Regions from separate parts of the Homo sapiens genome. Here region 2 is linked to region 1. Evidence: promoter capture Hi-C in 16 types of primary human blood cells and fetal thymus (Javierre and others, 2016). All regions are on one chromosome and are shown on one strand. Each heading gives the region's core, a stretch centred on a gene start or on the middle of the fragment in contact. The rest is flanking DNA. Distances are from core to core; before and after follow the strand shown. Region 1 holds the start of NCR3LG1 (natural killer cell cytotoxicity receptor 3 ligand 1). Region 2 overlaps PIK3C2A (phosphatidylinositol-4-phosphate 3-kinase catalytic subunit type 2 alpha).

The links. Contacts are between HindIII fragments. The CHiCAGO score rates a contact against its expected background, and 5 or more counts as called.
Region 2: a contact is called between a fragment that was not itself captured here and the fragment with the promoter of NCR3LG1 in region 1, in 5 of 17 cell types (naive CD4 T cells, activated CD4 T cells, M1 macrophages and 2 more). The highest score is 7.9, in naive CD4 T cells.

What each region holds. Positions count from the first base shown.
Region 1 is chr11:17,348,059-17,353,360 of GRCh38, forward strand. It overlaps NCR3LG1 (natural killer cell cytotoxicity receptor 3 ligand 1), which reads left to right and starts at 3,742. Exons shown (of 5, transcript NM_001202439.3): 1 at 3,742-3,981. The coding sequence starts at 3,912. LOC105376576 (a long non-coding RNA gene) reads right to left here and starts at 3,808. Exons shown (of 3, transcript XR_931094.3): 1 at 3,721-3,808; 2 at 2,979-3,116; 3 at 2,755-2,853. It also overlaps a transcript of NUCB2 not described here. RefSeq lists a silencer at 3,564-3,683 and enhancers at 3,680-4,281, 4,282-4,883, 5,108-5,157. The HindIII fragment of the contact is 2,891 bases long and covers 2,919-5,302 here.
Region 2 is chr11:17,089,544-17,095,589 of GRCh38, forward strand. PIK3C2A (phosphatidylinositol-4-phosphate 3-kinase catalytic subunit type 2 alpha) reads right to left here. Exons shown (of 33, transcript NM_002645.4): 28 at 4,718-4,842; 29 at 2,616-2,733; 30 at 2,453-2,525; 31 at 2,004-2,113; 32 at 1,791-1,916; 33 at 1-377. The coding sequence ends at 195. Among named protein-coding and RNA genes, the nearest start is that of RPS13, 15 kb to the left of the region's middle. The HindIII fragment of the contact is 174 bases long and covers 4,473-4,646 here.

The DNA.
Region 1 (5,302 bases), core at 2,492-4,991:
TGACAGTTCTTCGTGGGTTGGACACTTATTTTTTATTTTTACTTTTATTTTTTAGAATTAAGAAAAAATAATAGAGACAGGATCTTGCTATGTTGGCCAGTTGGTCTTGAACTGTTGCCCTCAAGCAGTCCTCCTGCCTCTGCCTCCCAAAGTGGGTGAGCCACCATGCCTGGCCAGGTTGGACACTTTTAAAGAGTCCTTCAGCACAGCTACTTGGAACAACAATGGTCTAGAATGAGGTGTTTTTTGTTTGTTTTTGTGTTTTTTTTTTTTTTTTTTTTTTTTTTTTTTTTGGAGACAGAGTCTCACTCTGTCACCCAGGCTGGAGTGCAGTGGTGCAATCATGGCTCACTGCAGCCATGACCTCCTGGCCTTGAGCCATCCTCCCTCCCACCTCAGCCTCTCAAATAGCTGGGAATATAGGTGACACCACCACACCCAGCTAATATCTTGATTTTTTTTGTGGAGATGGGGCCTCACTATGTTGCCTAAGCTGATTCCAAACTCCTGAGCTCAAGTGATCCTCCTGTCTTGGCTTCCCAAAGTGCTGGGATTACAGGCATAAGCCACTACACCTGGCCTAGACAGATTTTTTGAAGCTAAGGACTGTGCTTTAGCCATCGCTGAATTCGTCACTCCTAGATTGTGCCTGGCAGAGTTCAATAAATTGTTGCTGAGGGGCAACTTGAAATGTCCCATTCCTTTAATAGAAAAGCTTTCCTTTCCTTTTTTTTTTTGAGACAGAGTCTTACACTTGTCACTCAGGCTGGAGTGCAACGGCATTGATCTCGGCTCACTGCAACCTCCGCTTCCCGGGTTCAAGTGATTCTCCTGCTTCAGCCTCCCGAGTAGCTGGGATTACAGGCGTCTGCCACCACACCTGGCTAAGTTTTGTATTTTTAGTAGAGACAGGGTTTCACCATGTTGGCCAGGCTGGTCTCGAACTCCTGACCTCAGGTGATCCACCCGCCTCGGCCTCCCAAAGTGCTGGGATTACAGGTGTGAGCCACCGCGCCCAGCAGAAAGCTTTTCTTATACTGAGCCAAAATCTCTCTCCAACTTGCTTTTGCCTTCAAGAACATCACCTAACATGTGTACTCACATACACAGGTGTTAGCTTTTCAGAGACTTACAAGACTGGTACCATTTCTTAAACCCCCAGGCTACTCCAAACAAAATGGGCTCAGCTCCTTTACTCATTTGTAGTGATTAGGATTAGGTTCTGCTGAAAATGAGAACATTTTAAATAAGAGTAGCTTACTGACTTTATTTCTTATGTTCCACAGGTCCAGAGGTGTCCTTCTAAAGCTGGTAGAGGTTTCACGAGTCATCAGGGACCCAGAACCCTTCTCTTTTGCTGTCCCTTTGTCCTAGTGCATGGTTTCCACACTGTGGTGCAAGATGTCTCCTCAAGCTCTAGGCATTACATCTGCTATCCTGCTGTCAGAAAGAAGGAAGGGGAAAAGAAGATCATTTCCTTCTCTTTAAGGACATTTCCCAGAAGTCACACAGAACATTTCCATTTATATTACTTTGGCCAGAACTTGGTCATATGGCCACATTTAGTTCCAGAATGATTAGGAAATGCAGTCTTTTATTGATCCCTGTGCCCAGGAAAATATTGGAGGCCTTTTTCAAGGAAAAAGGGGAAAACAGATATTGGTTGACAAATAGCAGTCTCTGCCATACTGTCCCTGGATACATGTCTTTGAGTGAATGTCCCTTATTTACCATTCTGATTACTTGTTGGATATTTTCAATATGTGTTACAATATGGTTCCAAAATTGTATGTGATATTCCAACAGCAAGTTGGATGCAATGTGTCATAAAAATGACCTCAGTGTCAACCAGCATTTGAATACCGTGTCTCAATGCTGTGCACCAATAAAGAACACAGAAAGTCAGAGTTTTCCATAAATAATTCCTGAGAATATATGCTTATTTTGTTTGAGAAGCATCGTGAGGTATCTGCTGTGTGCTTTAGGGTTGAATGGAAAGTTGGCAAAAGTATTAAAAGACATGTTCAGGCCGGGTGTGGTGGCTCACGCCTGTGATCCCAGCACTTTGGGAGGCCGAGGTGGGCGGATCACTTGAGGTCAGGAGTTCAAGACCAGCCTGGCCAACATGGTGAAACTCTGTCTCTACTAAAAATACAAAAATTAGCTGGGTGTGGTGGCAGGCACCTGCAATCCCAGCTACTTGGGAGGATGAAGCTGAGGCACAATAATCTCTTGAACCTGGGAGGCAGAGGTTGCAGTGAGCTGAGATCACGCCACTGCACTCCAGCCTGGGCAACAGAACGAGACTCTGTCTCACCAAAAAAAAAAAAAAAAAAAAAAAAAAAAAAAAGATGTTCAAATAGACATGATATTGGTAAAAACGAAAACACAGGTAATGACTTTTCATTCTAATGAAATATAAATAGAGAAACCTGCCGGTTTTACCCTTTAGAGTAAAAAGGGTACAAAAAAATTACCAAAACAGTAAAAATTACCAAAAGAGTAATTTGATAATTTCTACAGGGTGATGTGTATGTGTCACAACTTTGTGAATCACTATTCTGGGCATGTATAAGAAGTCGTCATATACCTCCATTGGGAATGTTATTTAATGATGTCACTAATACCAGACAAGGATGTCTCCTCAGGTAAGGCTCCTTGGAGGAGGCAGAGGTTGAGAAGAGGTGTAATTTAGGTTTTAAAAATTCAATAGCTGGACTTAACCTTGCATATCTCTACCTGTTATAACGGTGGTCCGGAAGGCTGCGATCTGAAGGCCCCTCAGCTAGTTGCTGCCACTGTGGGCACTCTGCGCATCTTTCACTTCTGAGCTCTTTCTGTATGCACTCTGTTCTGCAGATAAGTGAGAATGTGACTATTTGCTTAGTCAGTGACAGTGTCTCTAACCCTGGAAAGGAAGCTTTTACTCTCTCAGTTTTAGAGACATGTGAACAGGCTGGGGATATGAGGTCACTTACCCACTGTCTTATAATCAGCAGATGGCATGGTTGGCATTGGAGTTTAGGTCTGTCTGTGCTTTTCTGTACATTACATCCTTTTTAATGATGCGAAGGAAAAATGCAGTAGGGTCAATGAGACAAATGGAATGCAGGTTGCTGGGGAAAGAATGCAGGTTCTGCGTTATAAATGCACACACATTTACTGTGCCACTTGGGTTCTGAACTTTGCGGTTAAATTGATTTAAAAACTGGTGTAGAGGTGGTAAAACTTAATCACCGAATGAGAATATTTGGGTTTGCTTCAGGAGGTCGCAAGCCACTTCTTGATTAGTAGAAATGGGAAATTAAGGGCCACCTTCAGGCGTTTAACTGAATTGTCCTGGGGATTTAATTTGCCTTTCGACTTAATGCTAAATTTTTGTTGTTTTTGGTTTTTAAAGTAATGTAAGTTTATCGCGCCAACGGTAAGATGTCGCTCTGGACGCGTGCACCTGCTCTCGCAATCACCGACTGCGGTCAGCATCTTCCTTAGAGCAGCGCCCCGGGCCACTTGGATCCCGGTCTCAATTTACTAAGCGAACCCAGAGGATGCCCCGAGTCCTGGACCGCAGAGCCGCTCGCGAGAGGCACCGGGGCTGTAACCGCGCAACCTCGTGCCGCGGGCGGAGGCGAGGGAGGATTCCCCGGCCGGTGCCCGCCCCCGGGCTAAAGTGCGGCGCGGGTGGGGCTGGTCACGCGCCTGGCTTCCTGCAGTGCGAACCTGGGAAATCCAGGCGACTTCGCAGTTGCCGAAGGGATCTGAAGAAGTGGGATGTGCAAAAGCGCCGGCTGGAAATCCCGGCTGTGTCTCCGTCAACTCTTTACGCAACAGAGGTCTCCCCCTGCCCTTGGTTTCTACCGGGCCGCCTGCTCCCACTCGGCGAAAAAAATTACACAACAGCAGCCGCGGCGATGACGTGGAGGGCTGCCGCCTCCACGTGCGCGGCGCTCCTGATTCTGCTGTGGGCGCTGACGACCGAAGGTAGGGGGCGGCTGGGGTGGGCTGGGGCGGGGGCTCCTGGCGCCAGAGGGTCCTCGCGGGTCGGCTCCCTAGCATCCCGCCAGGGGACCTCAACTTCCTGGGGGCTGAGAGCTCTATTTTCTTTTCTATTTCTTCTCCTTTTTTTTTTTTTTTTTTTTTGAGACGGAGTCTCGCTCTGTCTCCCAGGCTGGAGTGAAGTGGCGCGATCTCGGCTCACTGCAAGCTCCGCCTCCCAGGTTCACGCCATTCTCCTGCCTCAGACTCCCGAGTAGCTGGGACCACAGGCGCCCGCCACCATGCCCGGCTAATTTTTTGTACTTTTAGTAGAGACGGGGTTTCACAGTGTTAGCCAAGATGGTCTCCTTGACCTAGTGATCCAGCCGCCTCGGCCTCCCAAAGTGCGGGGATTACAGGCGTGAGCCCCCGCGCCCGGCCTGGGGGCTCTATTTTCAAGCGTCCCTCCTTTGTGAGAAGCGGAGTCCCCGATGCAACAGGTTTACATTGAAGGCCTGCCCTGTGCAGGGTCGACACCTGTGAGAGCGGAAACGGTGCTTCCTTGGATGTCGCGCGTTTGGTGCCTCGGTATTTGGCGCCTCTCTCGCATCATCCGAGGGGCCGGAGGAGAGAAGAAAATCAGGGAATCGGTAAATTGGAAAAATCATTCATCCGCATATCAGTGGGTCCTCCTGGCTTTGCTAAGTTAGGTCTTTACTGAGAGAGGGAGGGGAGTGTTTTGATCTTGTGGTGACCTTCAAACGTTCTCTTGCTTTTTTGGGAACTCGTATGGGCGTGTTCTGCGTTAACTTAAACAGGAGACTAAAAGGCTGAAACGCGTATGTAGAGATATTTAAACTCATTTCTAACTAGAAGAATGGCAATTAAACAACAAGATGCTGCTTGACCCTTACTAGGCTGGCCAAAATACGCTCCTGGGTGCCGGGTGGTGGAGGTGGAATGTAGGAATCCCGGAGGCGCGCTCTGGGCGCCCCGAGTCACTGCAGGTGGAGGAGAGCCGCGTGTGGACCTCACCGTGGAGACCTTGGCGGCAGCTTCACACCACGCCCTTGCTGCTTGCCGAGCAGCGTGAACGGATGTTGAAGGCGTAGAGCCAAGTAAACAGTGGACATACAATGCAATACCATTTCCACAGTTTGAGAAACAGAAGATACAGCCTTAAAGAGAACAAAAATTACATGTTAAACACCTTAGAATGGCTGCCCGATGGGAGAGGGAAGTGGAAATAAAAACGAGTGAATAGTATTTCTATACATTTGCAATAAGCAATGTGAAAATAAGACAGTTCCGAGTGAAGTGTGGGCGG
Region 2 (6,046 bases), core at 3,310-5,809, 260 kb before region 1:
AAGGTTAGTTATGTGACTGTTGGTCCAACAGATGTGTTGAAATGCAGCAAGTATATTTAACTTTATAAGTTCTGTCCAAGTATAAAAATACTATACAAAATTAACAAGTGTGTGTGTGTGTGTCTGTGTGTGTGTGCATGTATGCATGCACGTTTATAACTGTTCATGCTTCCAAAGCTCAAACATTCACTAGTTTACAAGTATGTTGCCGCAGTCAGCTGATACCATTTAACCGTCTCTTTGCTCAAGTTGAAATCTTTCAAAGGCAGGGTTACTCCACCCAAGAAAAAATTCTCCCGCAGAGATTCTGCACTGAGTACACTTAGTTGAAGTTCTCGCTGTCTTAGGGTTTCTTTGCTATATCCACTGTATACAAGCTACAACAAAGGAAAAAAGAACAGTAAATCACAAATTAAAGTTTGTTTGGTTTCTTGGAACATTTCAAGTGAAAACGTGAGAATATTAGCCAAAGAGTGACCACAATGAGTGACACTGATTATGACACATCCGGTAGGTTTTGTCTGAATACTTTAGAAGGACATTTTGTGTTTCAGGAGTCTTGGATTGTACTATCATTCCTGTGATGTCTGACATAGAGAGATACAAAGCAAGACTAATCATTAGCTAAAAAATAAAAACTAGAGGCCAGGCATGGTGGCTCACGCCTGTAATCCCAGCACTTTGGGAGGCTGAGGCGGGTAGATCACCTGAGGTTGGGAGTTTACAACTAGCCTGACCAACATGGAGAAACCTGTCTCTACTAAAAATACAAAATCAGCCAGGCGTGGTGGCACATGCCTGTAATCCCAGCTACTCAGGAGGCTGAGGCAGGAGAATCACTTGAACTCAGGAGGCGGAGGTTGCAGTGAGCCAACATGGCTCTATTGCACTCTAGCCTGGGTAACAACAGCGAAACTCTGCCTCTAAAAATAAATAAAATAATATAATAATAATAATCATCTAAGAGGTGGAGTGATCTAAGACAAACTGAATAGTCTGGAAGTAATTAAGCACAGACTAGACAACCACTTTTTGTGACTATTATAGAGGGGGGTTCACACACTGGAAACGTAGTTGAATTATGGCTCCTAAGGTCTATGAGGGCTCTATTTTATATCATTTTGTTAAATACTATTGGACTGTTATTGGTGTACACTGTATAACAAATAGTTCAGCAACTGATACCTAAAAACTTAAAATTTTTTTTTTTTTGGGACAGGGTCTCTCACTCTGTTGCCCAGTCTGGAGTGCAGTGGCATGATCATGACTCACTGTGGCCTTGACCTCCTGGGCTCAAGCAATCCTTTGACCTCAGCCTCCCGAGGAGCTGGGATTACAGGTGCGTGCCACCATGCCTAGCTAATTTTTTTCTTTTTTTTTTTTTGTAGAGATGGAATTTCATCATGTTGCCCAGGCTGGTCTCAAACTCCTGAGCTCAAGGGATGTATCCACCTCGGCCTCCCAAATTGCTAGGATTACAGGCATGAGCCACTGCGCCTGGCCTTAAAATGTTTTAAAATTTAAAATCTCAAAACAATGGACACAGAGAAGGGGACAACACACACTGGGGCCTGTTGGGGGATGGGATGGTGGGAGGGAGAGCATTAGGAAAAATAGCTAATGCATGCTGGGCTTAATACCTAGGTGATAGGTTGATAGGTATGCAGACCACAATGGTACGTTTAGCTATGTAACAAACTTGCACATCCTGCTTACGCACGTCAGAACTTAAAAATGAAAATTAAAAAAATAATAAACCAAGGAAACTTCTAGAAATGATTTTAACTTACCATTTCATTGAATGTCGGATTCCTCGTTTTTCGTGAAATTTTGGTTTTACGTTTGGATGTTTTGTGGTTATCTGGAAGTAGGTATGTTTTGACATATGGATTTGGGTCAGCTCCATCTTCAGTAACCTAAAAAGAAAAGCAGTCCCTTAATAGTAATGCTTCCTACCAAGGTAAGGGTTTCCTCTACAACCATCATTCTTTGTAATCACTCACAAGATCTTTGATATGCATCACCATGATGAAAAGAGTACCATTTCGGTAAGAGATGGATAATTTCACAGCTCCTCCTATTTGGCCTGGAGTAGGACTGAAGGAACCTGCATCTGAAAATACAAATATTTTCATCTTTATTTACTGGTTGTAGTGGTTCAAGCTGCAATAAAAGGATTTTGCTTTATTTTCAAGACTGTCACATGTGGTGCGGACAGAAGGGAGGGGAAAAAGGAGTAAACAACCTGATAGGTCATTGATTTATACTTCTTTAGTAATCACATCTATTAGGAAAGTTATATTTATTCAGAAATAGACTGGCTTAGAAAGAATACTCTCCTCCCATTCTCAGACTACAGCTAGTAAGCCTGCTGTCATTCTACCACATTCATCGAGAAGTTACAGACTTGCAGATCATGAGTTACCAATAAAGAGAAAAAAAATAATCTCACCTGCAGACCTAGCTATCCCTTCAGCTTTCTCATCACGAAGTAAAGGGTGGAAGAAAGTACAAACAAGATCACACTAAGAATAAAGAGAAAGCAATTCATTAGTTTAAATATTATGTAACACAAAAGGTATAAGATGTTATTACTTCTCATTTAGTAAGGTTACCTCTGCTACATCCGTTGAAGCATTCATCAAACTCTGTAAGTAACTGTTTAACTCAATTTTCCTTTTGGCTGCTACATCTTTTATGTGTGTTCTTCCTAGAACCATCCTATTAGGAAAGCTACAAAAGAAAAACAAAAACAAGTGGGATTTAAATAAGTACAATATTTCCTTAGAAATACACTTTTTCATATATACTTAAAGACAAAGTAGTCTTAATCCATTATAAAGTAATATTTTGTGGCCGGGCACGGTGGCTCATGGCCTTTGGGAGGCCAAGGCGGGTGGATCACTTGAGGTCAGGAGTTTGAAACCAGGTTGGCCAACATGATAAAACCCTGTCTCTACTAAAAATACAAAAATTAGCGTGCTGATGCCTATAATCAGATACCTATAATCCCAGCTACTCGGAAGGCTGAGGCAGAAAAATCACTTGAACCTGGGAAGCGGAAGTTGCAGTGAGCCGAGATCACTTACACTCCAGCCTGGGTGACAGAGCAAGTCTCCGTCTCAAAATAAAATAAGTAATTTTTTGTGATTTCTCTTCAAAGTATTGGAGATGACATCGTTCAGTCACCCATTATCCTTTTATGAGCCTTGGTTGAAAAGGTGTATGTGTTGATTTCCTATATTTATTATTAGCTTGGTGCAAAAGTAACTGTGGTTTTTGACATTAAAAGTAATGGCAAAAAACGCAATTACTTTTGTACCTACTTAATACTTATTTTCTAATATTTCTTCTCAAGTTTAATCACTCATAAATATTTTATCCAGATCTGATCCCTAAAAAATAAAATCACTACTCAATCAGCCATAAATATTACATATACCAGTAAAATCCACAAATAATAACATAAGGCCTAAGTAAGGTGCTGAAAGGATAATCTTAATTCCACTTATTTTGGTGGCAGTGGAAAAATGAAACTGTACACGGAAACAAACTCTAATACCCACTTCACCTCATCCTCACTTTTGAAATCTAGTCTGAAGAAAATATGAAAAAACTCGACACAGGAAATCTACTGGTCATTGAGCTACATTAAAACTGAAGACTCCCAAAGGGTATCAGATACAAAACTAAGATTTTGATTGACAGTCTCGATGATGTTTGCTTGTTATTTATTTTTTTGAGACGGAGTCTCGCTCTGTTGCCCAGGCTGGAGTGCAGTGGTGCCATCTCAGCTCACTGCAAGCTCCACCTTCTGGGTTCACGCCATTCTCCTGCCTCAGCCTCCCAAGTAGCTGGGACTACAGGCGCCTGCCACCATGCCCAGCTAATTTTTTGTATTTTTTAGAAGAGACGGTTCACCGTGTTAGCCAGGATGGTCTCCATCTCCTGACCTCGTGATCCGCCCGCCTTGGCCTCCCAAAATGCTGGGATTATAGGTGTGAGCCACCGCGCCCGGCCATGCTTCAGTTTTTTTAGCAGAGGAGCTCAGTATGGCCCATGATAGATTATTTCTACACTGATTTAGCATATGACTTTTTTTTTGGGGGGGGGGGACAGGGTCTCATTCTGTCACCCAGGCTGTAATGCAGTGATGTGATCTTCGCTCACTGCAACCTCCACATCCTGGTATCAATCAATCCTCTCACTTCAGCCTCCTGAGTAGCTGGGACTTCAGACATGTGCCACCAGCCCAGCTAATTTTTGTATTTTTTATAGAGATGGGGTTTCGCCATGGTGCCCAGGCTAGTCTCCAACTCCTGGACTCAAGGTATCTCCCTGCCTCGGCCTCCCAAAGTGCTGGGATTATAAGCTTGTGAGCCACCACACCTGGCAGGATATGACTTTTTTCAAAACCAAGATGCCAAATTATTATCTTGTGTTGCTTACTATGGTAGAGACAGCAAAGTTAAAGCTTCAATAAGAGTTAGAAGTCTGAAAATCTCATATTTTAACATCCCGATCATTTATTCATTCAACAAAAACTTCCAGTTCCTTGTTTATGTCTGCTTTTGTATTAGGTCTTTATGACACAAAGGAAAATAAGCCACACATGGCCGATAATATCTTACTAAGTGTTAACACAAAGCTTTCTACCTACATTTGATAACAAGTTGTTTCCTACAAAAAGGATTAATGTACAAGGATGAATACATACCCTGGTAACTTCCAAAGTGGAAAAATAATACTGAGCTTATTGTGAAGTTCCTGAAATTCGTCAAATGTTCGGAAGACAAATGATGGTTCAATCTGTCCTTCCCTCAAAATTCGGACTACATAAATCTGAAAAGAAATCACACCACAAACACATAAAATTTATATTTAAAACCTTCTTTCCAGGCCGGGTGCAGTGGCTCATGCCTGTAATCCCAGCACTTTGGGAGGCCGAGGTGGGTGGATCAGCTGAGGTCAGGAGTTTGAGACCAGCCTGGGCAACATAGTAAAAGCACGTCTCTACTAAACAAACAAAAATTAGCTGGGCATAGTGGTGCGTGCCTGTAATCCCAGCTACTTGGGAGGCTGAGGCAGGCAAATCACTTGAACCTGGGAGACAGAGGTTGCAGTGAACCGAGATGGCACTGTACTCCAGCCTGGGCAACAGAGCGAGACTCCATCTCAAAAAAACCTTCTTTCCTATATTGATCTTAGCTAAAAGACCAAGAAGCAAAAAAACCTCCTTTCCTGACAGAAAAGAAATTTATAGCTTAATTGTTATATGCAGTTCAAGTACTTTTATCTTGGTAATATATATGTCACCAATAGGAAAAAGCAAATATAAGTCATTGTATTTATAACACATCTAACTACATTTTAAGAGTGATCATAACCATCCTAAGATAGATAAACTAGAACTTAAAAGTGTAAGCTGGGCACGGTTGCTCATGCCTATAATCCTAGCACTTTGAGGGGCCAAGGTGAGAGGATCATTTCAGCCCTGGAGTTAGAGACCAGCCTGTGCAACATAGTAAGGCTCTGTTTCTATAAAAAATATAAAGATTAGCCAACTGTGGTGGCACATGCCTGTAGCCCCAGCTACTTGGGAAGCTAAGGTGGGAGGATCAACTCAGCCCAGGTGTCAAGGCTACAGTGAGCCAAGTGAGCCAAATGAGCCAACACTGCATCACTGCACTCCAGCCAGGGTAATAGAGCGAGACCGTTTCTCAAAAAGTAGAAATAAAAATAGTCCAGGCAGCCGGGCGCAGTGGTTCACGCCTGTAATCCCAGCACTTTGGAAGGCTGAGGCAGGTGGATCACAAGGTCAGGATATTGAGACCATCCTGGCTAACATGGTGAAATCCTGTCTCTACTAAAAAAAAAAAAAAAAAAAAATACAAAAAATGAGCCGGGCGTGGTGGTGGGTACCTGTAGTCCCAGCTACTTGGGAGGCTGAGGCAGGAGAATGGCGTGAACCCGGGAGGCAGAGCTTGCAGTGAGCTGAGATCACACCTCTGCACTCCAGCCTGGGCAACAGAGCAAGACTCCGTCT